Linked DNA regions of Homo sapiens: all the other regions are linked to region 1. Evidence: promoter capture Hi-C in 16 types of primary human blood cells and fetal thymus (Javierre and others, 2016). All regions are on one chromosome and are shown on one strand. The core of a region is centred on a gene start or on the middle of the fragment in contact, and the rest is flanking DNA. Distances in the headings are between cores, read along the strand shown. Region 1 holds the start of ALLC (allantoicase). Region 2 overlaps MYT1L (myelin transcription factor 1 like). Region 3 overlaps MYT1L (myelin transcription factor 1 like).

Region 1 (4,874 bases), core at 1,377-3,876:
TCCGATTTCCTGCCCCACCCTGACTCATTCCGTTTTCCTGCTCTGCCATAACCATTTTTCCCACCAAACCACTCACCCCATCACTCTCTTTAAATCAGCCAATCAGAATTAGTTTAGCCTGTGCGGTCTAACCCTAGCCAATAGGGGAATGATACAGCAGCAGGGGCCACGTGCGTCAGGAATAAGAACCCCGTCCCCTCCCTTGTCCAGGTGTGCGCCATTGCTCCATCTGTGAGGGCACACCCTTCTATAGCAGTAAATGGTCTTGCCGAGAAGAAAAAAAAAATTGATATTCAAGGGCTGTTTCTTTGGCGGCACCGAAACTTTATTTATAATAACAGTAAAGGCAGCATCATCTCCCCAAATATCGCAAAATTTATTCTCTGTGTTCTCCCAGTGTCTTAGCCTATTTGTGTCGCTGTGAAGGAATGCCTGAGGCTGGACAATTCATTAAAAAAAGGGGTTTACTTGGCTCATGGTTCTGCAGGCGGTACAGAAAGCACGGCGCTAGCATATGCTTCCAGCGAGGGCCTCAGGCTGCTTCCACTCCTGGTAGGAAGTGAAGGGAGCCGGCGTGCAGCCACCACAGGGCAGAAGAGGAAGCGTGGGAGGGACGCCAGGCTCCTCCTAACAAGCAGCTCTCACCAGACTAACAGAGGAAGAACCGTCTCACCACCTCCAGAACGGCACCAAGCCATTCATGAGGGATCCGCCCCCATAACCCAGACTCCTCCCGCTGGGCCCCACCTCCAACACGGGGGATCTGATTGCACCATGAGGTTTGGGGGGACAAACATCCAAACCATAGCACCCCACAACCTCAAAGGCTGTTATGTGAAAAGTCTCCCCACCCCTAAGATAAAAAAATGTGAGAAAGGAGAGACCGTTTAAAGCTGGGCCTCCAGGCCACAGCACAGGCCCAACCAGTGTCTGCTGTGAAAGGGCCGTGACATTTGTCTTTCCTAAGTTTCTCTCCTCAGCCACAAATCCCAGAAGTATCCACAGTGGCCTGTGCTGTGCAGGGCCCCGTGGAGGTTCCCGAGAGATTCCAGGCAGCCAAGAGCTGGCGGTATAAGGGGCCGTTCTCAGCCCTGGTGGAGGTCACAGCTCCACGACTCTTGCGCCATGAGCTTGCTGAGCTCTCTGCTCACTGGTCCCTGCCGTTTCTGTTGATAAAATAGCCAAGGTCTAGGCAAGAAAGGAAGGAGCCACGCGACCTCGGCTGAGGCCACCAGCTCAGCAGCTCACAGTGCTCAGACAGCCTGTGGCAGCTGCTTCTAAGCTCATTGCTGCAACCCCTCCCACTGCCTGCTCAAGGGAGCTCTTAAATACATTTTCTGCTGTGGCTGAGACCAGACCCAGGGTCAGCTCTGATGTTTGAGGAACATGCTAAAGTTTTACCTGCAAATTTCAACTTAATCACCGCAAATGAGGAGCATTGTCATGGGTTACGGCAAGGCGATGAGGCAATGACTCTCTAAAATAGAGTCATGAAATTTCAGGCAGTCAAGTGGTGCTCACACTATTTTTTCTTTTGAGATTAGCCTTAAAATAAGAAAAGGCATGACCAGGCAAGTCTAGGAAGCACAAGAAAGAGAGACCTCCCTCTGACAAGCAGGGAAGGCTGTGCTGATGGAAGAGTTACTCCCTCGTAAAGAAGAAAACCTTCAGGGGCTTTGTCATCGCTGTCAATAAGTTCCGAAGAAGCCTTTGGCCAAAAGTATGAGATTTATGGTGAAATAATAAAAGTGGTTTGTTCAAATTTGGGACAAAATTAGAGTGACCTTGAGCAGGGACTCTGAGCAGCCCAAGGTCAACTGCACGAGACTCCTGACTACCGGCAACTCTTGGTATATATTTACATTTAGTTCTACTTTGTGACTCTTGTTTTGAATATAGGTTTACTTCACCATGGCCTTAGTTGTTTAGGTTTTTTTTTTTTTTTTTTTGAGACAGGGTCTCACTCTGTCATCCAGGCTGGAGTACAGTGGCATGATCTTGGCTCATTGCAACCTCCACCCCAATCCCATCCCGGGCTCAAGCAATTCTCCCATGTCAGCCTCCCAAGTAGCTGGGACCACAGGCACGCACCACCATGCCTGGCTATTTTTTTGATTTTTGGTAGAAATGGGGTCTTGCCATGTTGTTCAGGCTGGTCTCAAACTCCTCAACTCAAGCAATCCACCCACCTCGGCCTCCCAAAGTACAGGGATTACAGGCATGAGCCACCATGCCCAGCCTCTTTAGATTTTTTTTTAAGAAGGCCAAAGTCACATGATTTGAAACCAAACAGAGCAGTGACCAGAGCCCAGAAGCCTGACCCACCTGTGGGGCCCCTCCAGGTGTTTGGGCCACGCCCGGTACCAACACAGTTCAACGGCACAAAGTGGTGTCTGTCACCATCTACCCTCTGTCACCTTCCAAGTGTCGAGGGTTCGTTGCATGACTGAAATTCATCTCTGTCACCCTATTCTTTTGGCAAAGCCCACCTTAAAGATAGCAAGGTATTTATAAACCACACTCCAGCTCACCCAGCAGTCAGAAATCAAGTATTCATAAATGGATCTCTTGCTCCCCAGAAGCCAGCCAAGGTCCCACGGTGCTTGAGTGCCAGCTCAGAGAGAATGTATAGGGGCCTGAGGTAGAGACAGAACTTTGCAGAGATTGGCTGTGCCTGTATGATGTCACAAGGGTTGCAGAGAGGTGGAAGTAACAGGGGGAGCAGCCCCTCCCCGGAGAAGCCAAGCAGGCCTCTGCAAGACCCTCGCACAAGGCCCGAAGCCAGACATGGTCCCTGCTGGTCCCAGGGCCCTTCCCTGTCCCTAACAAAGCTGCCTCCGGCCACTGGCCTGGGCCTGAAACCCCCACCTTCCTGGTCCGGCCAGTAACCTGACTTAAAGTTTTATCTCTAGACGTCACCTATTCACTAATCATCATTAACTCAGAAAACACTGAGCACACCCAGCAGTGGGTCCTGACCTACTAGAGAAGACAGGGGCCCTTGGGAGGGTTTGGCTAGAGCCCCTCAGCCCCAGAAAAAGTAAATACACACAAAATTTTCATGGAATTTAAAGAAGCCCACAGATGCTTAAGAAAGGGCACCTTGCCAAGTGGATGCTAGGCCTGTGGCATACAAAACAACACGTGCCGCCTGCCTTCAAAGGCCCCACTGTCTGCAGAAGAACTTTCCATGCAGAAAGAAACAGCTGAGCCCGGCTTCGACATGCAGTAACAGACGTTGCCTTGCTTCACCACAGCCACCCTGCGGGGCAAGCTATCCACTCTGCAGATGAATCAGCTGGGGCCTTGAAGGCAGGAAAGCCACCCGAGGTCACCTGCGCAGGGAGGGACTGAGCTGGAACCAGAACCCAGCACAGCAGATGGCGCGCACAGGGGCCCTTGGGGCTCCAGAAAGACAACCTGCGTCCCAGGGAGATCCATCACCCACACGCTCCTTTTTCCTTCCTGGGTTTTCTTTCCCCAGGGCCTGACCGGCCTTCTCCTCCTGAACTCCAGCTTTCCCAGAGGAAAGCAAAGCCATTTGAAAGGCCGGCTCAAGGCCACCTCCAACTGAGAACCCCACCCCCAACCCCAGCCCGTCTCTCAGCCCCGCCACCCAGCCGTAGTTAGGATGCGTCCAGCGCCTGTTGTCTGATCTCAGCTCGCCCGGCCTTTGAGTCCATGTTTACACATCTGTCTGCCCATCCAGATGAAATTCTTTAAGAACGAAACCACATCCTATGCTGCCTTCCATAGCTGACTGTATTTTAATGAATTAATGCACGTGGCTTCGTCCCTGGCAGTTCTTGTCAGCCGTGACTTCCCCGCCACAGCAGTGCAGTGCCCCCGCTCGCCGCCTCGGATCAGTCACAAAGCTCACGGTGCGGAGAACAGAAGGGCCTATTTTTATCCTCGTGGTTTCGCTAAGCCTAGGCTGTGGCACCGATAAAGCCATGGAAGAAGGCACCCTGACCCCTGCCCTCCACACCCTGACCTCTGCCCTCCACACCCTGACCCCTGCCCTCCACACCCTGACCTCTGCCCTCCACACCGAGCTGGCTCCTACAATCTAATGTGCTTCCAAATCACCTACGAGCTGGTTAAAGTGCAGATTCTGACGCTGCAGATTTGAGATACGGCCTGAGGCTTGAGATTTCTCCAAGCTCCAGGGCGATGCTGGGGCTGCTGGGCCATGGCCAGAGGTTGAGCACAGGGCTCTGCCAGCTAGCTGCCCCATCCGACGTGGCAGCCACTAGCTATGCTAAATTCAATACTTCTCTAACGCTAAAATCAACTTAATTTAGTGAAGTTAAAAGTTTGGATGCTCTGTCTTATGAGGTAAGTTTCTAGTGCCCAACAGCCACATGCGGCAGAGGCGACAGGCTGGGCTGCACAGCTACAGAACTTTCCATCGTGGCACAGCAGACGTCCTGTGGACCCATCTGTGGGGCGGGAGGAGAACAAGAGCTGGCAGAGAGGTGGTCCCAGAGCAGTGGCCTGAGCCAGACGTGAGGCTGTTCTCGGAGCTCCGTAGGGGCTTCAACCCTCCTGCCTTGGTCCTGCCAAGACATGAGGATTCTCATGGAAAGGGCTGGAGCACCCTCAGAATAATGCCGCCATCCCCGGCCTCCCTGGGCTCCCAGGAGGCAAGGAGATCAGCCTGCGATGATGGAGGTGCTGGCTGCCTGGACGGGCTCCTCCCGACCCCTGCGCAGCCCCTGGCTGAAGTGGGTGTCCCGCTCACTAGGTGGGGACCTGATGTTGAGGAAATGTCCACTCTTCAGGCACAACAACCTCCCACCTCTTCCTCCCCCCGCCCCATTCCACTGGGAGCTCGCTGGCTCTGCTGACAGCAGGCTACCCACATCCCCCAC
Region 2 (4,874 bases), core at 1,749-4,248, 1.8 Mb after region 1:
ACCAACAATAAACCACCCAGGTCTTGGTTCACGGAGTTTCTTGTTGAGGGAAGATGAGCCAGAAATGCCTCGGTCTTTCCTTCTGTTTCTCAAGTCCACTGTCAGGGCGAGCCCAGCAGCAGGAGCCTCCCTAGGCCCAGTGGAAGAGGCTACAAGTGGGGAGGGTCCCTGCTGCGAATCTTTCTTCCTGCCTCCTCCTCCTCTCACAGTAAGCCTGAGACCTGGATTATTAAGGGAGGGACCCAGGCATTGGGGTTTGGGCTGAATCTGACTTCTTTTAACTAACTATACTGACGCACAAGCCAGCCAAAAACAAAACAACCACCACATCGAGAACCTTTAGTGTTCAGCTTTTTAAAGGGCTTGATGAAACATTCCTAAAGTTCTCCAGCAATATTTGAAACGCAGTGCAGGTCCGTCTGTTTATGCCTCGCCATTGTCTTGGTTTTGATGAAGAAAATATTAAAATTCACTGAGTAAAAACTCAGACTTGGGTAATACAAGGAGGCAAGAGGTGGCAGGATCAGAGGCCAGTGGCCAAGATGCTCTGCTTTTCATGGAGAGGTTCTTTGTGCAAAAGAAAACGCAGACCATGGGTTTTCCAGTCATTGGAGATCACTGTCAATCTCCCTGTGCCTCAGTTTCCTTCCCTGTGAAGCGGGACAGTACTGGTAGCAAGCACACACCTGACATTCAATACCTGTTACCACTGACAACAACTGTGTACAAAAATCCCCACAAAATGAAACTTTTCCATTTTTCATTTATATTTCATTATTCATTCTTCTGAAAACTAAATGAAACATGCTGCATGTAGACCTGACTGCCCCATCTACAGTCAGTTAAGAAAATAAAGTCTCATTTAAAAGTGTTCTAGCTACTCAGGAGGCTGAGGCACAAGAATCACTGGAACCCGGGAGGCAGAGGTCGCAGTGAGCCGAGATCGCGCCACTGCACTCCAGCCTGTGTGACAGAGTGAGAGTCTGTCTCGAAAAGTAAAAATAAAAAGAGCTTTCTCCATCTTACCTTACCTCATTCATTGCTCAGGCCAAGAATGTTTTTACCTTTGCAGCCTACACTTTGGCAGCGTCAGCATATTGTTTGCTGAAGAGAGGGTGGCTTCTACTGACATTTTATTTTATCTTTAATTTGCCATATTTACCGGCTTCTTGACCAAATTGATCTGTTTGCCTTAAGCCATCTAAAAGGCAGTTTTCAAGGATGGTGGCTTGATTGAACTCAGAGGTAGGGAGCTCGACTCTCCCAGGGAATTAAGGTAAATTCCTAACTGTTCACTGAAGCTGGCTTTGTGATGTTTTTGGTTTTTATTGTGACAAATTTTGGAACATTTTAAATTCAGAAGAAAATCATGAGGAAGATTTTTAATGAAATGTTTCTTAGCATTCCATTCTTTCATTTCAAAATTATGAAACATTTAATACAAACATCAGAAACTACTGAATTGTATTGCATACTTTCAAACAAAAATCATGTCATCAAATCAAATGTAAAATAATGCATCTTATACAACCTATTTCAAAAATTTTTAAATACATTGATTTTTTAACTTCCGGATGACTTTTTAATATATACAGTATTCCTGTCACACATGAACAGAAGGAAGAATTTATTGTCCTTATAATTGTAAGTACTGAAGTTTTAAAGTTATTTAAAATATATATACACATATATTACTAAACTATAAATATATATTATTACTTTGCACACACACATTTTTTGTTATTTTTTGGTCTAGGTTTCAAAGATGGACACATTTCCTTTCATGAGACATGTTACATTGTTTGAGGTCTCTTCATATTTCACACCTAATTAAATTTGGCCTCTTCTAATTTGGAGGAATTCTGGGCTCCTCTGGAGTGGCTCTGAGAAGTGAGCTTTCTTGGACTTCATGGGCCCCCACATCTGACTCTGGGCAGCAAGAAGGATGAGAAGCCAGCACTCTGTGATGGGAGAGTCTAGTCAGAATGAGGAGGTTATGTTGTCCTTTAATTGTACATCTGAGGTTTTAATCTAGTAAACACTTCACTAATTTATAGTTCCCTGGAGCAAAATGAATGAAATTGGAAATAAAGTAGATGCTCCCTTTGGGAAATGATTGACAAGGATTTGGGATTTCCTGGCCATTTCAGGAGAGACTCGTTCTCTCCCAGGCGCTTTCTTGAGTGAAAGGCTTTGAAGGAACTCAAGGGCCGTTGGGTGCACAGGGGCCGGGGAAGCAGGAAAGCTCACAGCCACGTCTGCAATTTCAACCTATTGCTGTGCTCTCTCTTACATGTGATCTGTGGCCTTCCAGGGGTGGTGACTCAGGGAAATTACTTCTCTTCTCTTCTCTTGTATTGTTTTTTTGCATTTTTACAGAAAGAGGTTTGTTTCTGACACTAGTCAATTCCATTTAATGACATTTTAAAAGTCCCTAGGTTCTACAGGTGATTACATGTTTCTATTCATGAATGAGAGATGGAGACATCTCGTCTACCTCCAAAGAGAAATTGAGAATATTATAAGAATGTAAAGAGGTTGGACATCCCACACTTACCTGATGTTTTTAAGAAAAAGCTTTCTAATAATTAAAATAAAATGTGACTTGGTTATGGAAATGAGAGCCTGAAATGCCCGATGGAGCTTTCTGGGATGAAGTTGCCTGTTCTGTGCTGTCCCACATGAAAGTCACAAGCTGCTTGAATGAGGCTGCCGTGGCTAAGGAAGTGCATTCTTGATCGTATTTCATCTTCATTAATTCAAACTTAAATGCCCACATACACCAAGCAGGTGTACACACTGGACAGTGCCCAAGAGAACCTTACACTTATTTTATATTGTTCTTTGTGTGGTTTTTACTACACAAAGAACAAGAGAAATTATCTTAATTCTAATTAGAATTACATTCTAACAAACGTGTAGGAATATTCCATTTCTGAAACTGAACAGTTTATATTTTTTAAGCATCTGGCTTATACTACTAAGCCACTGACAAACAGTTTAATAATTTTTTATTAATATACTGGTATCTTTTTTTGTTTAATGCAGTTTGTAGACAGATTAAATGTGAAGTAAATGTCAGTGTTACCATTTTCAGAATGGAATACCTGCAAGCTGCACGGTGAGATGAGTGCAAACCTCACTGTTTGGGACGAGCACTGGGGCAGCACTCAATAGAAGTTACTGGAAAGACTCAGTTACACTATTGTGAAAAACCATGCAACTTGATTACTTTCAAGCATGGGCAGAAATTCACATTTAGTTAATCAGGTGTTATCAAAGAGAGGGCCACAGGCCACCTCCTTCAGTGACTAAATAAACCCGACGTAATTAACACATACATGGCTAATAATTGGGGCCTTCAAGTTCTTGGAAGCCTGTTTCCACCTGTATCTTCGATATTTCTCTCCCAAGCTTGCTGATGCATTAATTAGCACTACCTGCAGAGAAAAGCTTAGTCCACGGAGGGGGACCCCAGCACTTCCCTGGTCCCAGTTAGTTTTCATGTTGAATTAGGAAGATGTCATTATCATGCATTTTTTTTTTCTACAATTTAGGATACAAACAGGTGACCTATTTTAGGCAATTTTTGGTCTCAGAGCCAACTGAGAGCAAGCAGAGTTCAGCAGAACTGCTCACAGCCATGGCCGCGCCCGGAACCCCTGCCTGTCCCAGCACAGGCGTGCGAGCAGCCAGGTCCCATTCCTCAGCTCTCACCGTTCATGTCCCTCTCCCTTGGCCAAGTGCTGATGGCGTTCATCATGCACTCTTACTGAACAAGGATAAAAAATCTACCTGATATATAAAAGCACCTGCTTCTGGCACAAATGCATCCTCTTAGCAAAGGGGAGAAAATATCAGTCGAGCAAGGAAGTTTTTCAATGACTTTTTGGACATAAACCTAATATAAGCTCAAAAAATTGAGAAAGAAAAGACTTGGAAAAAAGAAAAAATATGTATAAACTCACCACTCTCACAGATATGTTTGCATTTTTGTGCAATCACAATGTGATTGAAACCTGCTTTTCTGCTTAGCATATAAGTCATATATCTTATTTTTAATCGCTGCATCATATTTCGGGGAAAATGTGTTTTTGCAGCTTCCATCATAGCCAACAAGTGATAAAAGTCTCCAGCACCAGGAATCCAGGCATTCTGAAGCCTGTGTTCTCCATGAGGGCTCCTTCCTCACCTATGCAGCTGCAACCACGGGGGTCTCCCCAGAGCTAGGGTGATGATAGGCAGAGCTTAGATGCTGAAGGGCTTTGCGGAGTGGGTTTTTCTGCTGCAGGGTTATAATTTATCCTACAGAACCACGGACTGACTGTGTGGTGTTCTCTGAGCTGTGGTCCTCCCGTGGGACCCTGGTCATAAGGAGACTCAGCTTGAGTCTCCAGCAGGGTGAGCAAGCCATGTCTGCGTCCTCCCCTGGTCTGACATTTGGGGAGACGGCGGACACATAGTCCCAGCATGCTTAGAAGACATCGGGATGCCAGCAGAGGAGGGGCAGGGAGAAAGTTCTAGAGCAGCAGAGCTGCATAGGCATCAGATCACCTGAGGTCACTGGTCTTGGCAGGACTTTAGTTCTGTCCTGAGTGAGACGTTGCTTCTCAAATCTCCCCGATGTCTTGCAGTTAGAGGCCAGTCCGGAGCCCTGGCAGTGGGGTGCAGGGCTGGGATGGGAGGCAGCAGGTGCTGAGGTTTCAATGGCGGCACGCATAGGGTCAGCTGCGGGGACTCAGTGTGGGCGAACAGCATCCAGGAGAGTCACCCAGAGGTCCACTCTGGCCACGGGCCATGGGGAAAGGTTGCCGGGGTGAGGGGTAGGCGCGGGCTCAGGAGCCCCAGATGGACGGGGGGGTCAGGGTCCCTGC
Region 3 (4,874 bases), core at 1,182-3,681, 1.8 Mb after region 1:
TGCCCACTAGGACAAGACTGGCTGGTAGGTTGTTGATGGGGTGTAATCCAAGGAGATCTGGCCCCACTCCTGGGGACCAGGTAGGAGATTCTGACTGCAGAGTGACTGCTGTCTACAGTTACTCTTCAATGTATCTTTGCCAACACTTGCTTCAGGTGCACAAAGAATTGAGTCATTGTTCCTAAAAAGAGGCAGAGAAATGGGCCTGTCGTAAGGGAGAAAAGTACAGATCTTAGCAACCAAAGGTCAGGGCCATGGAGATACAGAATGAAATAAAACATAGGACCTTCCCTACAGCCTTGGAGAATCATCTCTTAAATCACACCAGCTGTGATCAAACCACTCACAAAATCTTCACTTCACCAGCTGCATCCTTCCAGACACAGCACACCAGTGCTTGCTGTCCATCTGTCAATCTGTGTCTGTCTATGTGTCTGTCTGTGTGTCTGCCTATCCATCTGTCAGTCTATCATGCCTTCCCTCAGGATACACAAGATAGTGAAACACACACTGCTGCCCAGTGAAGTGAGGAGTCCCTCTGCCTGCAGGATTAGCGTGTGCTTTACCAAAGTGGCAAACTTTAGGTAAGATCGTAGAGTTTGAGCAGAAATCATGCAAAAGTAGGGAAACACACAGGATGGTGAGCACAGCCAGTGGTCTGGAGGCCAGGACGGAGACCCGTGAGAAGGAAGAACAGGGAAAGCTGCGGGGGCTGCTGAGGAAGGGGCTTCACGTTGTCTATAGGAAATAGAAATCCACGCAGGCTGACAGAGGGGCTGAGGGGAGGAGGACTGAGCATCCACTTGGGTGTCTGGGCCCTGCCCTCTCCCGGGAACTCCAAGCCACAGCCCACCCACCCTGTTTTGCATGGTGAGCTAAGAATGGCTTTGACATTTTTAAAGAATTGCAGAAAAGCACAATTGACAAATAATATTTTCTGATCTATAAAAGCTGTGTGAAATTCTGTTTCCATGCCATGCATAGGGTGCCGTTGGCACCTGGCTGCCCTCAGGGCTTGGCGGGCAGGCTGCGGTTGCTCCCACAGTGCAGGGCAGAGCCAAGTGGCCACAAAAACAATCGCGCAGTTCCCAAAGCCGAAACATTTGCTACAAAATCCTCTCCAGAAAAAGTTGCCAACCCCTGGCCTATTATATCTCCACCTTTGCTGTGTCTCCAGGCAACACACCCCACCCTTGGGGGCCTAATCCTGTCAGGTTACCAGCCCCCAAATGGGCTCTGCCCATGTTCTCCTTTTGATTATTCCCAGCTTCCAAATTCTCCAGCGCTCAGACCTTCCTATCATCTTGGCACTTCCTCTTCTTTGCTCCCTGCCCTCCTGGCCACACAGACAACTCCCCTGACTGCCTGGGCAGCTGCAGACTCAGCTCATTCTCTCCTTCATGACTCCTCTGGAGTGCACCTCCCTGGCCCTCTGTCTCCAGCCCCACCACGCCCGCCTGCAGAGCTCCCTTCTTCCCTCCACCTGCCCGACTTCCCCATGGCCTCTCTACCTGAGCAGAGGCCGCTCCCTGGTGAAGTTTTCTCCTCCTGCAGGCAGTCCGCGGCCCTTCCTACCACTCTCCAGCTGCCTGCGTCCATGGAGCTCGGTGCCACACTCTGCCCTGCAGCATGGCTGTGTCACCTCTTGGGTACCACCTGCCAAGACGGCCTGTCTTCCCACGGGCCGCAAGCTCCTGCTAGGTCACAGGCCGGGTCTGCAGATTCGCTCCACCCTCTAGGGCCAGGGCAGGCCAGGCAGGCAGTAGCTGTGCCAAGGACACTGAGGAAAAGAGAGCCTGAAACCTGGACCTCGACGCCCTTTGGACATCAGCTCAACTCTAGCAAGTAGACCGTGTGCCTTGGAGATGTCATCCCACAGGCTAGAAAGCTCCATTCTTTCCCATGTAAGATTAGACGTCCGTATTTCAACTTACTTGAAACACTAGTTGGACGTGTGTAAAGACTATGAGACTCAGTGCCACAGATTAGGACCTGAATCAAGTTAGGTCTAAAGATCACTGGGTCCCAGCTAGTGGAGACATCTCCATGATGGACATCTTGTGATTGCATTTGTCTGGTTTTCATGGAAATTCATATTGTGGAGACATGTTTATCTATTCTCTGCAAGAAAAGGTGAATACATAAGGCAATAGGCATTTCTAGAACAAGGCATGTACATTTAGTAAGAATTTCACAAGCAGAGTAGGTGAATGAAAAGGTCCTACCTGGAAGGTTTTGTATTTTTTTGTTTTGTTTATTATTATTACATCAACAGCTGTATTTAATCACACAAATCCTGTGTGCTTTTCCTTTTTTCCTGCAGTAGAGGAAATGGAATAGTTGAAGAGGTATTTTTAGGATGGTTTAAGATCCAGCGGCTGCTCCTGTTTGAAGGCAGCTCTGGCATCTAGAGTTAAAGCTGCTGCATTGCTCGTAACATACAGTGATGTTCTGGGCGCCTGGAAGAACATTAACACATTCTTGTCTGCTGATGGACTGAAAAAAAATTTGATCAAAAAATAGCTCTGGGCCGGCGTGGTGGCTTATGCCTGTAATCCCAGGACTTTGGGAGGCCAAGGCAGGCAGATCACCTGAAGTCAGGAGTTTGAGATCAGCCTGGCCAACATGGTGAAACCCTGTCTCTACTAAAAATACAAAAATTAGCCGGGCATGGTCGTGGGCGCCTGTAATCCCAGCTACTTAGGAGGCTGAGGCAAGAGAATCACGTGAGCCTGAGAGGCAGAGATTGCAATGAGTTGAGATCATGCCACTGCACTCCAGCCTGGGTGACAGAGTGAGACTCCATCTCAAAACAAACAAACAAACAAAAAAAAAAAAAGTTTTGTTTGCGAAAAGAAAAAGAAAGTGCATTCTGTCATTGTGAAACTGCTCTCATCAGACCAAGCATCCTCTGTGCTGGAAGAGGGGGAACAGAGCACCCTCAATTTGAAGCCCCTGCTCTGCAGCGCCCCCTGCTGTCAGGGCACTGAGCCGAGCAATGCTGATTGTGGTCCAAAAGATACTGGCATGAAGGGCTGTGCTGACATTTTACAAATAGGGATAATTATTAGGACCAATGACCTTCCTTTCCTGAGCAATTTTAACTGTAGGCCCTCTTATTTTTATTTTTGTTTTAATTAAAACTTTTAAATGACATTTTTATATTCAGTAAAGGATGCATGTGAAAGTAGATACTGTCTTAGTTGCCCATTTGAGTGCAGTGAGTTGATAGGCACATCAAAAGACTCTTGACAGTTCAGTCACCGACTAAAATTCGGTACCATCCACTTGGCGTCATCTAGTTGTAGCATCTTATGAATTAAATATCTGGGAAAGTCAATGCATCGTCACATCTACATTTTATAACTTCAGGATAATTTAAGGTGATTCAAGTAAGATGAGAGGAAGAAATGCAGAGAGTCGTTTTAGTTAAAAATTCTTTCAAGTAAAATGTTGTCACATAGAGGTAGCATTTTTCTTTTTTGTTTCAACTTTTATTTTAGATACAGAGGGTACCTGTGCATGTTCATTACACGGGCATATTGCACCCAGGTAGTGAACACAGTACCCAAGAGGTATTTCTCCAACCCACTCCCCTCTCTAGTGTCCACAGTGTCGATTGTTCCCATGTTTATGTCCCTGTGTGCTCTATGTTTAGCTCCCACTTACAAGTAAGAACATGTGGTACAAAGTTTTCTGTCCCTGCATTAATTCATTTAGGTTTGTGGCCTCCAGCACCATCCATGTTACTGCAAATGACATGACTTTAGACTTTATTGTTTTTATGGCTGCATAGTATCACAGAGTGTCTATGTACCGCATTTTCTTTATCTAATCCACCACTGATGGGCGCCTAGGTTGATTCTGTGCCTCTGCTATTGTGAAGAGCATGGTGATGAGCATACGAGTGCATGTGTCTTTCTGGTACAACGATCTATTTTCATTTGGGTAAATCTCAGTAACAGGACTGCTGGGTCTAATGGTAGCTCTGTTTTAAGTGCTTTGGGAAAACTTCAAACTACTGTCCAGTAGCTGAACTAATTTGCATTTCCACCAAGAATGTATAAGTGTTCTCTTTTCTCCACAGCCTCTCCAGCATCTGCTGTTTTTGGCTTTTTAATAATAGCCATTCAGACTGGTATGAGATGCTGTCTCACTGTGGTTTTGATTTGCAGTTCTCTGGTGATTAGTGATGTTGAGCATTTTATCACATGGCTGTTGGCCACTTGTATGTCTTCTTTTGAGAAGTGTCTGTTCATGTTCTTTGCCCATTTTTAATGGGGTTATTTGTGGTTTGTTTGTTGAAGTATTTGTTCCTTATAGATGTCAGATATTAGGCATTTGTCATCTGACATAGTTTGTGAATATCTTCTCCTATTCTGTAGGTTATCTGTCTGCTCCGTTGATAGTTTCTTTTGCTGTGCAGAAGCTCTTTTGTTTAATTAGGTCCCTCTTGTCTATTTTTGTTTTTGTTGCAATTGCTTTTGGAGACCTAGTCAAAAAAAATATTTGCCAAGGCCAGTGTTGAAAAGGGTATTTCCTAGGTTTTCTTCTCAGATTTTTATAGTTTGACATCTTACATTTACATCTTTAATCCATCTTGTTAATTTTTGTATATGGCAAAAGTATGGGTCTAGTTTCATTCTTCTACAAATAGCTCAGCCATTATCCCAGTACCATTTCCCCACTGCTTGTTCTCATTGGCCTTATCAAAGATCAGATGGTTGTAGGTGCGTGGCTTTATTTCTGAGTTTCCTATTGTGTTCCATTGGTCTGTGTGTCTGCTTTTACACCAGTACCAAGCTATTTTGGTTACTGTAGCCTTATCGTGTACTTTGAAGTCAGGTAGAGTGTAACCTCTGGCTTTGTTCATT

What was found. Contacts are between HindIII fragments. The CHiCAGO score rates a contact against its expected background, and 5 or more counts as called.
Region 2: a contact is called between a fragment that was not itself captured here and the fragment with the promoter of ALLC in region 1, in 4 of 17 cell types (M0 macrophages, M2 macrophages, endothelial precursors and 1 more). The highest score is 7.5, in M0 macrophages.
Region 3: a contact is called between a fragment that was not itself captured here and the fragment with the promoter of ALLC in region 1, in 2 of 17 cell types (M2 macrophages and total B cells). The highest score is 5.1, in M2 macrophages.

Annotation. Positions count from the first base shown.
Region 1 is chr2:3,655,952-3,660,825 of GRCh38, reverse strand. It overlaps ALLC (allantoicase), which reads right to left and starts at 2,626. Exons shown (of 12, transcript NM_018436.4): 1 at 2,532-2,626. RefSeq lists a silencer at 481-757. The HindIII fragment of the contact is 6,896 bases long and covers 1-4,874 here.
Region 2 is chr2:1,876,472-1,881,345 of GRCh38, reverse strand. The region is part of intron 18 of MYT1L (myelin transcription factor 1 like); the gene reads left to right. Among named protein-coding and RNA genes, the nearest start is that of PXDN, 130 kb to the right of the region's middle. The HindIII fragment of the contact is 837 bases long and covers 2,580-3,416 here.
Region 3 is chr2:1,895,416-1,900,289 of GRCh38, reverse strand. All of the region lies in intron 14 of MYT1L (myelin transcription factor 1 like), which reads left to right. Among named protein-coding and RNA genes, the nearest start is that of PXDN, 150 kb to the right of the region's middle. The HindIII fragment of the contact is 8,246 bases long and covers 1-4,874 here.